2 separate regions of the Homo sapiens genome follow, and region 1 is linked to region 2. Evidence: promoter capture Hi-C in 16 types of primary human blood cells and fetal thymus (Javierre and others, 2016). All regions are on one chromosome and are shown on one strand. The core of a region is centred on a gene start or on the middle of the fragment in contact, and the rest is flanking DNA. Distances in the headings are between cores, read along the strand shown. Region 1 overlaps DGKB (diacylglycerol kinase beta). Region 2 holds the start of ARL4A (ARF like GTPase 4A).

What was found. The method cuts DNA at HindIII sites, captures the fragments that hold promoters and counts their contacts. A CHiCAGO score of 5 or more calls a contact.
Region 1: a fragment that was not itself captured here is called in contact with the fragment with the promoter of ARL4A in region 2 in 1 of 17 cell types (M1 macrophages); the score reaches 5.1 in M1 macrophages.

Annotation. Positions count from the first base shown.
Region 1 is chr7:14,694,478-14,697,177 of GRCh38, reverse strand. All of the region lies in intron 8 of DGKB (diacylglycerol kinase beta), which reads left to right. Among named protein-coding and RNA genes, the nearest start is that of DGKB, 210 kb to the left of the region's middle. The HindIII fragment of the contact is 6,153 bases long and covers 1-2,700 here.
Region 2 is chr7:12,686,373-12,689,140 of GRCh38, reverse strand. ARL4A (ARF like GTPase 4A) reads right to left here and starts at 1,508. Exons shown (of 2, transcript NM_005738.5): 1 at 1,413-1,508; 2 at 1-975. The coding sequence starts at 886. The coding sequence ends at 284. RefSeq lists silencers at 1,944-1,993, 2,194-2,473 and an enhancer at 1,463-1,999. The HindIII fragment of the contact is 3,768 bases long and covers 173-2,768 here.

The DNA of each region.
Region 1 (2,700 bases), core at 40-2,539, 2.0 Mb before region 2:
TATTTTGAATAAACATCAAAATTTCAACATTATTAAAATACATATTAAAATATACTTGACTTGAAACCATAACTTTGGCCACAAAAAATATTTTGGGGAAAGTTGATAAGAGATATTGAGTTTATATTATTTTTAAAACCTTTAGCAAAGTGTATATGAATAAAGCAATGCAAATAAATTTTATTTAAATGATTTTACATTTTATGCAAATTCAAGAAGTGTATATTTAACCTCTGTTCACATCTATGCGGTAAACAACAGGATAATGGCATGAGTATATGCTGCAAGAACTCTGATAGCATTTTCCTGTCTTACTGGGATTAGGATTTTTCCAGTTTTAAAGCAGCTATTGGGAAATGCATATGCTGTGCTTCTAGTGAGTGGCAGATGTCATTAACAGGTTGTCATTTGTATGTGGAATAATAAAGTAGATGGTAACATGTATTTAATTTATTGTTTGACTCACCTTAATATTTTCACTGAAAGCCAGGAATTTCTGATTATTTCTGTTGCCCTTGTAATCGACAACAGCTTTCTCCTCTCCTACTCACCTTTCTACCTGTGCAGATTAGTCATCTGTCAATCAAGCCAGCTTGTTATTAGATGGAGAGTGGGAGGGGGATTTGTTTTTCCATTCAGGTTTCTTTTTTTTTTTTTTTTTTTTTTTTTTTTTTTTGAGACGGAGTCTCGCTCTGTCGCCCAGGCCGGACTGCGGACTGCAGTGGCGCAATCTCGGCTCACTGCAAGCTCCGCCTCCCGGGTTCACTCCATTCTCCTGCCTCAGCCTCCCGAGTAGCTGGGACTACAGGCGCCCGCCACCGCGCCCGGCTAATTTTTTTTGTATTTTTAGTAGAGACGGGGTTTCACCGTGTTAGCCAGGATGGTCTCGATCTCCTGACCTCCTGATCCACCCGCCTCGGCCTCCCAAAGTGCTGGGATTACAGGCGTGAGCCACCGCGCCCGGCCTCCATTCAGGTTTCTAAACAGCGGGCACTAACACTTCTCAACAAAAGCATTTTTGGTGTGTGTGTTGGGGGGTGTGTTTGTAGATTTGAGAAAAAGGACATCAGGATGCTAGGAGGAAGGGGAAAGCTGGTGGCTGAGTAGTCTTTCTACAACAAATACCTAGTGTATTTGTCAGATTATTGAATGGAGAATACAAGTAATAAACTATAGCATTATTTGACATGTGTGTTACTGATAAGTCTGCTACTATTCCAGGGAGCTGAAATGGTACAAAGTTGTACATTATGTCTGCTGTCATGGGAACTGCCTTGTCATCTTGCCTAAGGCTTCAGTAGTTCTCATTGTAAACAAATGTACACATCAGCAGGCTTCTCATAGGTTTGCATATATAAATAAAGAGAAATGGGCCGGGCTCGGTGGCTCAAGCCTGTAATCCGAGCACTTTGGGAGGCCGAGGCAGGTGGATCATGAGGTCAGGAGATTGAGGCCAACCTGGCTAACATGGTGAAACCCTGTGTCTACTAAAAATACACACACAAAAAAAATCAGCCGGGCGTAGTGGCGGACGCCTGTAGTCCCAGCTACTCGGGAGGCTGAGGCAGGAGAATGGCGTGAACCCAGGAGGCGGAGCTTGCTATGAGCCCAGATTGCGCCACAGCACTCCAGCCTGGGCGACAGAGTGAGACTCCATCTCAAAAAAAAAAAAAAAAAAAAAAAGAGAGAGAGAGAGAGAAATGAACATTTGAGGTTGATTACAATAGTAGTAGGGAAGACTGGAGCGTCCCTAGAAGTTTTTATCAAATTAACTCAGGCTCTACACTCAGTTCAATCTTATTTTTTTATGAGGCCCATGGGATTTGAGACACGGTCAGAGGATGGCTTTAACATGAGATTTATTAGGTACAAAAAGGAAAGCATCACCCATCTGAAACAAATGTCATTGTTTTATTTCTCTTATGATTGATACATTTCTACTAATTCATCAGCAAGCTCTTGAGAGGCAAGAGGAGAAAAATAATCTAATTTTCAAATACAATACTTCCTGAGTGAAGACACCAAGCACAAGAGTGTCTAGGCAGACAATACTTCTACCAACAAATCAAATATTTCATGCATTGCATCTTTTCCAATCTCTGTTCCAATGCTCTCTGCATTTCTCTTTTTTCCAAATTGATTAACATTTTTGTATTATATAAAGACGTGAGTTCCTTTCTTCATTAGAATTCTTACCATGTTTGCCATCTTGACGCCATTAGATGGGAAGTACTTTGCTTTCCCAGCAACCAAGGGTAATATGTTTGGAACTTATATATAATTTCCATTAATAATAGCACAAACAACACTATATGACTCTGACTCTGTATGCCAGGGGCTCGTCTGCTTATAATACGTTAGCTTATTTAATCCTCACAACAGCCCTTCTAGGTAAGTACTGATATTGCCACCATACCACAGAGAGGTAAATGTATTGCAAACAAACACTGCAGAGAACATTTTAAGACATTACGTGCAAGTCATCTTTAGAAACGAAGTTTAATTAAACTTGATTTGATCCTTTAACTTCTCGACTCTATTAAATTCTGATAGGCAATTAAAAGCAACTAAATTCCTTCGCCCCTTACTACTTAGCAAAGAATTATATGAGCTCTTTGCCATGAAGTTAATTTGTTCAGACATTTTCTGGCATATATATGAATCTAAAAAATAATATGAAGAAAGTAATTAAAGACCACT
Region 2 (2,768 bases), core at 259-2,758:
AATTCCCACAACTGTGTTCTGGTCAATTTACTATCCTTGCTTGGCTTCCCCAAATGGTAGTACCAAAAGATTTGTGGGGTAGGGAGAAGAGACCACTTTAAGAAGCACTGCATTTACTCATCTTCCACAAGGCAACAGAGTTGGGCATCTGATTGTTCAACAAAACAAAGCTTTAATAGCATCCAGGAGGGCAGACAGGCAAACCACGCTGTAGACACTCTTCTATTTGTCAAAATCAGACCAGAGAAAACCTACTCCACACAGATATAATAGGTATTGATATTCATCTTTTCTTTTTCTGTTGCCGCAACATTTTTCTTCTTTTAATGATCATATCATGTAGTTTCTCAAGTCCTTCCTTTAGGCCATCTCCTATGATTGCACAGGTAGGCTGCAAATGCCAAGGAGTTGATGAGCTCAGTTCACCCATTGCTAACAATTTCTCAATTTCTGAAAGTGACAATGAGTTCCTCAAATCTTGTTTGTTAGCAACTATAAGTACAGGGACTCCCTGATTTTCTGATATCCTAGTTATTTTGTGAAGTTCAGTTTTGGCTTCTTCCATCCTTTCGACATCAACAGAGTCCACAACAAATACAATGCCATCTGTGCATCTGGTATATGACTTCCACAGTGGCCTTAATTTCTCCTGACCACCTACATCCCAGAAGTGAAAAGTGACTGTTTTAGAATTTCCCAAGGTTACCTTAATTTTCTCAGTGTTAAATCCTTTGGTAGGTACGGTATTTACAAATTCATTGAACTGCAGCCTGTATAAGACAGTTGTCTTTCCAGCACAGTCCAAACCCAGAATAACAATGTGGAAAGACTGAAATGAAGGCAGGTTGGACAGGATAGAAGTCTGGTCTGACAGCCCATTCCCCATTTCCAGGTGCAAATAAATGTCCCAAATTGAAATGCTTTTCTCTTCTTGGTTTACAACTTCTCTTGGTAGCTGATCCAGCTATAAGACTGCTGGGAGACGGAAGAAGGAATAAGTTATTCTCCCGAAATAATACATTAAAACAGGTTTGCTCTACTTTGCTAAAATAAACAACACGAAGAACTTACTATAACTTGCTGCGCTAAACAAACCAGACGAGATATGAAACGTACATGAAAACACACACAGTCCAAGACAAACGATGGAATAACAGTGATTGAAATTATCTGGTTTACTTAAATTGCAGTAATATGTACGTTTTTCTCCTGGGTCCCCAAACCTCAAAGACCTCATTCTGGAAAGAACCCAGTCACCAGTATCTGGTCTAAGTGGCCGTAACCACAAAGTGCCTATCTGGCAGAAAACTCATAGCAGATAGTCCTATCTTCGGAATCTAATTCCACATGCTTAACAGCATACCCAAGATCACTATTACCTCCTACCCCTTGCAAAATAACAACGTTCTCACCTCCCGATCTGGAGTCTGGGTCCAAATGAGAAAGCATTGGCAGGCGTTTCTACGCAGGGATAAGCACCCTTCCAGCTTAGCTCTCCAAGCAGCTCTGGCAGTTGCCGCACGAGAAACCTTGGACTCAGACTCCGACCACGCCCACTCCTCCCGGTCCACTCATGATCCCAAATCCCATTGGTCACCCGCATCAGGGAAGCCATGCAACTCCCGCCCCCGCTCCCTAATTGGTGAGGGTAACTGCCGCTCCCAGCGCGGCGGAGCTGAGCTCTCTCTCGGTCCACCGGCACCACCTGTTGCCCTTAAGTTAGAAAAGGCGGCGTTCCCAGAGGGAGCCGAGCAGCCGCTGCAGGTGAAGGGGAGCCTCGGGCGGTCAGGTCGCCGCCAGGCTGCCGGCTCCGTTCGGCCCGGCGCACCTGCAGCGCAGCCAGGGCGTCAAGCCAAGGCTCTCACATCCGGGGCCCGCAGTCACTGCCAACGCGTTAACCCTTTGTCCGCGGGCCCGAGGGTGCCGGCTGTTGCCGCGCGGGCCCCTGAGGCGCTAGAGATCCCACCTGGCGCGCCCGCCGGGATAAGCCCATCCTCCCCGAAGTGGGATCCCTTCACCCTGTCCCTCCGCACACGACCGGCTCTTCTCCCTCGGCAGGGCGTGGCCGCCCCGGCCGCCCACCCCGCCGCGGCTCACCTGACTAACCGTCCTTCCCTCTTCTTCATTCAGCGTCTCTCCCAGCCGCTGGGGAGGCGCGCTGATACCTGTTCCCTGGCACCAGGGAGGCGTGGGCGATGGCAGAGGACTGGGCGCCTGGCGGGCGCCGCGCGCCAGGCTGCCCTAACGGTGCTCGCCCGGCAGCTCCACGCGACAGTCCCCGCCCCCTGCCCGCGCGCCGCCCGGGCGCCGGCCTGTAGGGGGCGCGCAGGAGCCGCGTCTCCTAGCAACGCCAAAACAAGGTCGAGTTCGAATCGGCCTAGCGCTGGCTGCCCGCGAGGTCGGATGGGACTTCCGGCCTCACCCCTGAACGGTTGCTCCGGGTAGCTCTGTCTGCGGCGGCCCGCCAGCCTGGCACAGGCCCCGCCCGGCACCGCCTTCCCTCACGTCGTCTAGGGCGTCCGCGGGGCAGCAGCCACGTGATTCGCGGTTAGGGATTCCATAGTTCACGGGTTACGGCACACACGCGTTACGTATATATCGAGGTGACGTGGAAGTCCCCCAGTAGTTGACCTTAAACAGCCTGGGTTGACTGGCCTGGTAACTGCGCCTTCATTCGCTTTTTGTAGAGCAAATGAACGCGCTGTCTCACGTGTTTCTAGCAGCATCCCGGGGAACTGGCCACAGATAGAAATATTCCAGTTTGACAC